3 separate regions of the Homo sapiens genome follow, and regions 1 and 3 are each linked to region 2. The links are contacts of gene promoters, found by promoter capture Hi-C in blood cells and fetal thymus (Javierre and others, 2016). All regions are on one chromosome and are shown on one strand. Each heading gives the region's core, a stretch centred on a gene start or on the middle of the fragment in contact. The rest is flanking DNA. Distances are from core to core; before and after follow the strand shown.

Region 1 (3,340 bases), core at 672-3,171, 100 kb after region 2:
GAATTTTGCCTTTTTTTTTTAGCCCAGAGGAAGTAGGGTTACCCATTTATTTACGTTTAAAAAGTACACAAGCCCTATACTTACTTAGGTAAATGTTTATTTTTTCCATTAGACTATTTAAAATATTGAGAATAGCTTATAGATTTTCATTTGTACTCTCAAAGGCTCCTAATCAGTGCCATAGTCTAAATTACACACCTTACAAATGAGGAAATGAATGCCCAGAGAGATTAGTTGACTTGCTCAAGACCACAGTTCGTGGCCAAGGCACAACTAGAACACAGATTTTCTTATCTCTAATCCAGAAAATCCAGTACAGTTTTTAGTAATGTCATGAGAGCCCCCTTCCTCCAAACATTTATTCATTTTACAAATATTTACTGAGCACTTAACTGTATGCCAGGTTTTGATCTAGGCACAAATGAACAAAGTAGAGAAAATATTTAATTGAGTTTACAAATTGAGATTACAAATAATTAAAATAAATGGTTTGTCCTATTAATATGTGCCATGGAGAAAAAAAAAGTGAGAAAGGAGAGTATTGGAGGGCACTGGCCCGACAGCCAAGTGGAGCTGAGTATTCAGGGGATGGGCGTGACCTGGGGTCTGAGGCTTCTGGTAGTGATTGGTGTAAATATAGCATCTCCATTTTGTTGTAGGCGCAGTGGACTTTGGTGAGATGGCTTAGGATGTAACCACCAACATTAATTCTGTGGGAAAACTGTGTTTCAAGTTCCAAACATTGTTTGCAGCCAACTTTTGGAAGCCAGATCATTTTGTTAGATGTGTACCATCAGTGTACAACCAGCCCTCTATATCTGGAATTCTACATCTGAGATTCAACCAAAATATTAATTAAAAAAGGCAATAAAAATAATACAAATTAAAAATACAAAAATGATTTGCACAGCATTTACATTGTATTAATACTATAAGTAATCTAGAAATGATTTAGAGTATATGAAAGGATATGTGTGGCATATATGCAAATACTATCCCATTTTATATAAGGGACTTGAACATCAAGGGGTTTGGTATCCATAAAGGCCCTGGAAGCAATCCACTTCAGAAACCAAGGGACAACTGTATAATTATAATTTCATTCTCACACCGTTCCCTATATTTGTTTGTCGATAATTCTGTTTACTTAGAATCATTAGTTTCAAGGATTCTCACAAAATTTAACAATGTAGGTGGCATTTTAACAATTTCTGAAGACTGAGCAGCAGAGAGTTCAAGTGACTTGCCCACAGTTGCATGTCATAGATGAACCTGGGGTTCATGCCAGGATTGCTGGCTCTGTTTTACCAGACAGTCAAAATAATTCCTTAGGCCTTCTCTTTATATTTCTTGGTCATGACTATCTGGTTTAATCTTGAAGGTTGCTTTTATTAATTTATTCTTTGAATGAATTGTGAATATATATAAGAATAAATTTTTGTAAGTGTACATTATTTCATAAACTGAGAAAAGGTTTTTATTACATTTTATGTTAGTATTATTTTTATTTTCCTACACTATATAGACGTAACTAAGAAAAGCTTTCTGTGAGAAATGCAAATATAATAATATATGAGATGATTAACATCTGTTTAATTGTTATATTAGGAAAAGATAGAGCTAAAAGACATTCTCTTTTATTTAGTTCTTAAGATATTTATATGATTTATTTTGTGGTTTTGTTTTTATTCTCCAATTGAACAAATTAATTTATATCTAATTTCACCTATTAGTAATTGTAAATGTAAATAACTCCCTCCTTCCTTTATCTTCAGAGAATTTAGATTCACGTCAGAAGTTCCCATTCGACTTGATTATCATGGCAAACATGTATCAATGGATCAGGTTGGGAAACTCTACAAATATACTCCACAAAATTATCATATGTTTCTCTAATGAGCTCGTTTTTATTTTTAACTTTGCTTTGTCATAGTTTATATATATGTTTGAAATGAAGTGCAAGGTTTTTAAATTTAATTGTTTTTAATGTAAATATTTACTTAAGTACCATGAGTAAAATTTGGTATAAATTGGGTCATATGTATTGTAAGATATATATTTTTACTGTAAATATTTTAAGTGTTTTAGTATCAATAATGACTACTGCTTTGACTTTCAAAATAACAATTATTTTAGATGTTGAGTCTCTTAATTTACAGTAAGGTTAATTTGGCCTTTTTTAATTTTGAAGGGTACGCTAGCTGGGATTTTGATTGGTCTGGCTCAGTTAAACTGCTCTGAACTAAAGCTCAAGAGGCTTTCCTATCGACATGGGTAAGTGAATTTATTATATGAAGCTTTAAGTGAAGTTATCAAAGTTAGTGTACAACAAATTTAAAAACTGAGTTTTCTTAGCATGCATACACAATTTTACAGTATTTTATTTAGAGAGCTCATTTTTAGAGGACTCTTAAGATTTAGGCACTGATTTCTATTCTGAGGGATTAGAAGTAGTTTGAAAAGAGTAGTATTTGGAAAAAACAGTTATAGTTTAGGATATTTTAAATAATTTTCTAAGGTTGTAAATTAGCTTATTCAGTGAAAAGATTGGAAGTTCTTAGTAGCAATTACTGGCAATTTAGAAACTTTGGGTTAATCTTATGCCAAAGCCTTAAGATGTTCAAGAAATAAGAACATTGGAAAAACACACTAATACGTATTACCTGAGTCTTGTAGAAATTATTAACATTAGAATTGGATTTTATATATATGTGTGTGTGTATGTATGTATATGTATATTTAGAGAAATTCAGGTTGTGAGTTAAAAGGATGATTTGTGTTTCTTTTTGATTTGAAAAATGTTACCTGTTTTTGAAGCACCTGTAATATTTGCCCTTATAATTTGTAGAATTTGTTTTAAGTAAAAAAAAACCCTCAAACTAATCTGTGTCTATAAATGTATTTCTCCTTTTGACATACTAATAATCATTTGCTCTAGTTTACTAGGCGTTGACAAATTATTCTCATATGCAATCACTGAGTGGCTTAATGACATTAAGAAGAACCAGCTACCAGGAATCCTGGGAGGTGTTGGACCTATGCATTCACTAGTACAATTAGGTGAGTTTTCTTCTTTTTTAATCAAAAGATAAGTTATTTTTTCAGATGAGTAATTCTTATCCCTTTGAGAACTTATGTGAGGACCATTAGTCTAGAAAACTCACATATGTACTCATATACACAAAACTTTGCCTCCAGTTTTAGGAGTTAAAAACCCCAGGGTTAGAATGATAGAAAAGTCTGAACTGTGGCACTGATGTTGATTTTGTGTTGACTGTTGTAGTACAAGGCCTAAAGGACTTGGTCTGGCTCCCAATAGAGCAGTACCGGAAGGATGGCC
Region 2 (3,320 bases), core at 681-3,180:
GGCTCACTGCAACCTCCGCCCCCTGGGTTCAAGTGATTTTCCTGCCTCAGCCTCCAGAGCAGCTGAGATTATAGGCGCCTGCCACCACGCCCGGTTAATTTTTGTACTTTTAGTAGAGACAGGGTTTCACTATGTTGGCCAGGCTGGTCTCGAACTCCTGACCTCAGGTGATCCACCCACCTCGGCCTCCCAAAGTGCTAGTATTACACCACGCCCACCCTAAATCTCTGTTTTTTGATGGATGCATTTTAGATGGTACACTGGGTTAAATAGCGTCTACCCCCACCAAATTCCTGTCCTCTTAGAACCTGTGAATGTGGCCTTATTTGGAAATAGGGTCTTTGCAGATGTAATCAAGTTAAAATGAAGCCATATTGGATAGGGTGAGTCCTCATCCAACAACTGGTGTCCTTATGAGAAGAGGGAAGTTTTGACACAGAGACACAGGGGAGAGAACACCATGTGAAGAAGGTGGCAGAGATTGGAGTCTACTGCCAAGGGGTGCCAAGAATTATTGGCAACTACCAGAAGCTAGGAGAGGGGCAAGCAACAGTTCTTCCCCTGGAGCTTCCAGTAGAAACCAACCCTGCTGACACCTTGATCTTGGACTTCTGCCCTCAAGAACTGCGAGAGAATAATTTCTGTTTTATAAGGTCATCCAGTTTGTGGCAATTGGTTACCACAGCCCTAGAAAACTAATACAGATTGTACGTACTGTAGCCTCATCCTATTTTAAGCAGATTTGTCCTGTTCGAAAGTGCAGTCATTAGCCTCAGAGAAGTCTGTCCAGGGTGAGATTAGATTTCTCTGTAGCTCTAGAGGACAGAATTCAGATGGACGGGTCCTACCCACAGGGAATGATAAAATCATGGCTTTCTTTTGACAACTGATCATATTAGCATGAAGGGCCCCAGAGCCCTTTTTCTGAATATCTTCATTTTCCAGGGATAAAGACACAGAAAGGTGAGGAAACTTAATGGAACTCGGGGACCCAAACAGTGTCTGGTCCATAATAGATGCTCAAAAACCATATATTGAAGGGATGGATGAATGAAAAACGCTTCATGGGCAATATAAAAATTTGATTTACTCACGCCTGTAATCCCTTTTGGATTTACTCGGCCTGTAATTTGGGAGGCCGAGACGGGTGGGTCACGAGGTCAGGAGATCGATCGAGACCATCCTGGCTAACACAGTGAAACCCCGTCTCTGCTAAAAATACAAAAAATTAGCCGGGCGCGGTGTCGGGCGCCTGTAGTCCCAGCTACTCGGAGGCTGAGGCAGGAGAATGGCGTGAACCCGGGAGGCGGAGCTTGCAGTGAGCCGAGATCGCGCCACTGCACTCCAGCCTGGGCGACAGAGCAAGGCTCCGTCTCAAAAAAAAAAAATTGATTTATTTTCTCGTTTAGCTGCCTGCTTCAAAATCGATGGAAGGGTAGAAAGAGAACCTAGGAGGGGGCAAGAGACCTGGAGTCTCTGTCCAGGTTCTGGCCTCAACTCTCTATGTGATCTTGGGCAAGTCCCTGCCTCTTAGCCTCAGTTTCCCCTCATTAAAAGGAGGAACAGGGGATGGACCAGTGATTTCCAGACACCTGAGCTTCCATGTAGAATCTCTTGACCAGCCTGGGTGCGGACTGGGGTCCAGGGGGCATTGGTGGTGCCCAGGACGCGGGACCCTCCCTGAGGAAAGGCCCCGACAGCGCCCTGGGGCGCAGACCCTCGCTGGGTTTGCGGACCGGGGGCCGAGGGCTGGGAGCTGAGAGCTGGCGTGAGGCTCTGGGCCGCCGCCGCCGCTCACCTTCCCGATGTTTCCGCTGCTGTAGGAATCCAACAGGTTTATAAACACCCTCTGGGTCCGGATAACCTTCTCCGTGAGAGCAGCAGTTTCCTCTTCTTCAGCCATGGTGGGAGCCGCGCTGGTTGCTAAGGTGAAAGCGCCACTCGCTTGCCAAGGAGGCGGGGCCCGGGCCAGGGAGGCGGGGCAGGTTCTCTCTGGGGGCGGGGCCTTGGCTCCGGGCAGTTTGCCGGGCGGGGAGGGGCGTGTCGTGGGCGAAGCAGGGAGTGCCGGGCGGGGCGGTGCGTGTCGTGCCCGGCGCTAATCAGGGCGTGCCAGGCGGGACGGGGCAGGCTGTGCCGGTCGCTGGGCGGGGCGTGCCGGGTAGGGCGGGGCGAGTCGTGCCGGGGGGTTGGGCGGGGCATGCCGGGCAGGGCGGGGTGTGTAGTGCAGTGGGCTGGGCGGGGCGCGCCGGGCGAAGCGGGGCTCAGGGCTCGCAACTGCGCGCGCTGTCGGCTGCTGGGCGCCAGGCGGATGTCCCTGCGAGTGCTTTCCGCGGCGCCGCGCGTGCAGCCCGGGTCTCACCCTGGCTTGCTGCCCACTGGGAGCCCTTGGGCAGTGCATGGTTTCTTTCCGAAGCTCCCTGGGCGTCTGTCCCGGGGGGCCATGTGATTGCTGTGCCTTTTTAATCTCCATTGTTCGGAAAGTCTGGAAACACATCCCTGTGTCCGCTTGACCCGATGACTAAAAATAATGAGAATTCTGAAGAAGAGGGAATGGCCCACAGCCTAGGCCTCTCCCCGACACGTGGGAGTTACTCAGCACGCTCCCATGGGGTGGTCTGGCCGGGGCGACGGGACGTAAGCCTCAGCTGCGAAGAAAAGCTGTTGCCATGGAGTTTCGGGCTCCCGAACACCCGAGCGACGCTAGCGTGGTCCCGCCTTGCGGCAGGTGCGGCTTGGTCCGCCGGCTCAGCTCCCTTGGGGGTTGTTTCCAGACGCACGTTCCGGGAAGACCCCTGGTGTCGGCTGGGGGCGACCAGAGCCCGTAGGCGCCCGGGATTCGCTCACATTCACCAAGGGAAGAAATTTAGACTTGACCGTTCCACAAGAGATTATACATGCAGTTGCTGAGATAAATCCACAAATTAAAAGATAACATTCACCTCGGTGATCACTGGACCATAAAGGTTGTGGTGGACTAAGAATACGCAGTTCCCTTGGAATAGCCTGATCATATTGAACTGTTTTCATGCCTTAAGCATTAACTCCTTAAATGCAAATATTTAACACTTGCAGCAATTGTGTGTGCGTGGTTTCTTCTCGTTCTTTTTATTATTTTTAATAGAGACAGGGTCTCACTATGTTTGTTGCCCAGGCTAGTCTCTAACTCCGGAGCTCAAGAAACTCTCCTGCCTCGTCCTCCCAAAGTGCTGGTATTACAGGCATGAGCCACCACGCCAGCGTTCTTGTTCTTTTTATTTTTAATTTATTTTTTTGAGATGGAGTCTCGCTCTGTCACCCAGACTGGAGTGCAATGGCATAAT
Region 3 (3,512 bases), core at 70-2,569, 81 kb after region 2:
TTTTAAAACATATGGTAAACTTCCCATGCTACCTGATACACTTTATACTTTTTATTTAATTTTTTTATTTTTTAGAGACAGGGTCTTGCTCTGTGTGGCCCAGGCTGGAATGCAGTGGCATGATCACAGCTTATTACAGCTTTCAACTCCTGAGCCCAAGTGATCTTTTGCCCTCACCCTACTGAGTAGCTAGGACTATAGACGTGTGCCTCTATCCCTGGCTGATTAAAAAAAAAGTTTTGTTTTTGTAGAGAAGGGGTCTTGCTGTGTTGCCCAGGCTAGTTGAGAACTCCTGGCCTCAGGTGGTCCTCCTGCCTTGTCCTCCCAAACGGCTGGGATTACAGGTGTGAGCCACTACATCTGGCCCACTCTATCTTTATACTATAGTTTAAACCTTGTGAATTTGGGCATCTCTTTAAAAACTGCCAAAAATTTAGAATTAATTTGAGTAGATGATTTAATCTAATTCTTTACACCATTTAAATATTCCTAGCATTCATAAACAGTTTTTAAAAAATGTTAGATGACAGTTATAAGTTAGAAACTGCTTATGATTTCAACAATGTTCATACCAGAAAGAATGATGCAATTAAGCATATAGTGATTATGGGGTATGATACTCAAAGCTTAGTTTTTCAGATGTTGGTTTTATCTTTCTTGCCTCAGAATAATCTTGGATGAAGCTGCTTTACATCTATCTGACAAATGCAATACTGTCACTATAAATCTGAGTAGAGGTAAGAGTTAAAAAACAAATGGAGTAGATAAATTCTGCTTTATTTTTGTGCGTAAATAATTTTAAAGCATTTTAACTCTGGGATAATGCTAGTGAACTAAGAATCTTATTAAAGATCCTTAAAGATTAAAGGGTCTTTAAGTATATAGTGATCATGTGGTATATATTCACAGCTTCATTTTTCAGATACTGGTTTTTCAGTTTGAAATTGTAATGTTCTTATAATGCTAGTTAAGTACATCAAATTACTATATATACTACAAATTTTTATTTAAGATAATTTTTGTTTCTAACAAAAAATAAAGTGAATTTTAGGACTTCTATGGGATGAAACTATTTTCATTGCATTATAATTATTTGTAGTGCTCTCTGCAATGAATTTTAAAGGAATGCTAGTTGTATTGGGTGTTGGTTGGATACACATTTTTGAAAGCTGTACTGAAGAGATTTTCTTAATTTTAAAAATTTTAGATTATGTTCGTGTGATGGATATGGGGCTTTTGGAGTTAACCATAACTGCAGTGAAGTCTGATTCTGATGGAGAGCAAGTGAGTTATTAAAATAAATGAAAATTTTAAGTTCTATTTTTTAAGAGATTAAAAAAATTGAGTTTAACATTTTTCCGTGTACCTAATTTTGGTCAGAAATAGAGTAAGTATATTAAAAATGGATTTATTTAAATACTTTTTTTATGTAGCGAGACAGATTATCATGAATCTTATTTAATGTAAATCTATGCAAAAAAAGAAACTTTTGTCTCATTTGGAAAACATTTTCATCCCTTTTTCTGTGTCTTGTCCAGACTGAGCCCCGCTTTGAGTTACACTGTTCCAGCGATGTTGTCCATATCAGAACGTGCTCAGACTCTTGTGCTGCGTTAATGAATCTCATTCAGTACATTGCAAGCTATGGTGACTTGCAGACACCTAACAAGGCAGATATGAAGCCTGGAGCCTTTCAAAGAAGGTCTAAGGTACAGTCAGCAATGTGATTCCTCCAGTCCCTGCCATGTCGTGACATGTTTACATTATTGAGGTCTTCATGACAGTCATAAGGTAGAAAAGAAACTTTGAAAGTCATTCATCTGTTCTTTACCTTCAGAATAATGGGGTCTGAAACGGTGGTTTCATGGGCCTTTTTGGAAAACCATTCTGCTGTTTTGATATTCTTTGTTTCCATTAATCTTCCTAGCAAACATCATACTTTTTTTTTTCTAGACTTGTTATTTTCATCTGTCCTAAGGGAAGAAAGAAAACATTTATCATGCAAAAGCTTGTTCTATGCAAGTTGTATGTAAAAATGCTATGAAAAGATAGATGGCAGGTGTTAGTATTGTTACCAGAAGACTTACTTATATCATCATATTTTCCCTATTTTTTTATCTCTAAGACAATCCAGTTTTCAGTGTACTTTGTCATATATGACTTCCTTTTCCTTTCATGATGACCTGGTGAGATAGAGAGGTTAAAAATTAATAAGACCCAGAGAATTTAGATGATTGCTCTAAAGAGTAGCAGAAACAGCAACAAACCCAGATATTTTGGTGTCCAGTTCAATGCACTTTTCTGCCCCAAGTGTCACCTTTCTAACTTCTCTTATGTCCAAATTGAAGAATGTCCAGTTTGTTTAGCATTTTTTCTTTTTCATTGTTATTCTTTGTGGTCTCTCTTATGAACAGAAATCTCAGTCCCCTTAGGTTCTAGAGCCTCTGTTATGTACTCTAGTAAAGGCCTGACTGGCATCGTGTTTGTTGTCTTTTGTTCAGGATTATTTTACACTTTATTTGTGTTAATTTCTGTTTGTGACTCCTTGTTCCTGCTGTATTCTCACGATAAGGTGATTTATGACACCCCGCCTACTATTTATTCCCTTTTAAAAAACATTCTTCTTATTTTAAATTATCCCTTTCAGCTTGGAACTTGCTATTTTAGAGTCATGCTCACATATAAAAAGCACGATCTGGGTTTAATGAATCTACAGTTCACCAACCATTGGTGAAGTATTTGGTTAAGTATTTGGTGCTGGAACTGAGCTCTGAATCACCGTTTAGTATATTTCCCCTGCTGTGTGTGCCCCCTACTGTTGTTAGGTGTCCAAGAAATGAGGCCTCGTCCTACAGGGGCTTTATGTCAAAGGGATGAAAGTCATTGCAACCATCAGAGTTGAGGAGATCAAACTTATTTAGTTATCCCTTCTTTCCCAGCTTTATTGCAGTTTGTTCAACTTCCCTGTTTTCAAATGCATTGCCTCTTCAAGATCCCAGTTCACTGTGCTTGCTTTGAGGTGGTGACACATTTATTGCTCTTTGCCAGTATTTGTTAGGGTGATAATACTAAAAACTTGAAATATAACAGCTGCTGGGCATAGAAAAATGAGTAGGTTTCTATTTCTGATGTTTTTGTACAATGTAATGTATTTTTGGGATAAAATAAATGTAAGTAGTTTGGTTTTTAAGAGCATTTTCAGTTATTTTTAATTAGGTTTTTTGGCTATAGGTAGATTCCAGTGGTCGATCATCCTCACGTGGTCCAGTACTTCCTGAAGCAGATCAACAAATGTTACGAGATCTGATGAGTGATGCTATGGAGGAGATCGACATGCAACAAGGCACCTCGTCAGTAAAACCACAGGCTAATGGTAAGACCAGGACTCTTCTCAGGGAGCACTGATGTTAATGTTGGGGCTTACTTTATTTGTGTTCTCGTAAATTTAATAAGTCACTTATTAAAGACGCATATGAGTTTTTATGGATATCTGTTAATCATTCAGCTTGTGT

Evidence for each region. The method cuts DNA at HindIII sites, captures the fragments that hold promoters and counts their contacts. A CHiCAGO score of 5 or more calls a contact.
Region 1: a fragment that was not itself captured here is called in contact with the fragment with the promoter of AK7 in region 2 in 1 of 17 cell types (total CD8 T cells); the score reaches 5.3 in total CD8 T cells.
Region 3: a fragment that was not itself captured here is called in contact with the fragment with the promoter of AK7 in region 2 in 1 of 17 cell types (erythroblasts); the score reaches 7.3 in erythroblasts.

Annotation. Positions count from the first base shown.
Region 1 is chr14:96,290,534-96,293,873 of GRCh38, reverse strand. It overlaps ATG2B (autophagy related 2B), which reads left to right. Exons shown (of 42, transcript NM_018036.7): 37 at 1,776-1,845; 38 at 2,192-2,274; 39 at 2,939-3,060; 40 at 3,284-3,340. Among named protein-coding and RNA genes, the nearest start is that of BDKRB1-AS1, 24 kb to the right of the region's middle. The HindIII fragment of the contact is 756 bases long and covers 1,544-2,299 here.
Region 2 is chr14:96,390,738-96,394,057 of GRCh38, reverse strand. AK7 (adenylate kinase 7) reads right to left here and starts at 1,930. Exons shown (of 18, transcript NM_152327.5): 1 at 1,799-1,930. The coding sequence starts at 1,903. RefSeq lists a silencer at 1,861-2,370. The HindIII fragment of the contact is 12,427 bases long and covers 1-3,320 here.
Region 3 is chr14:96,309,314-96,312,825 of GRCh38, reverse strand. It overlaps ATG2B (autophagy related 2B), which reads left to right. Exons shown (of 42, transcript NM_018036.7): 26 at 667-737; 27 at 1,208-1,284; 28 at 1,539-1,709; 29 at 3,232-3,373. Among named protein-coding and RNA genes, the nearest start is that of BDKRB1-AS1, 42 kb to the right of the region's middle. The HindIII fragment of the contact is 1,382 bases long and covers 629-2,010 here.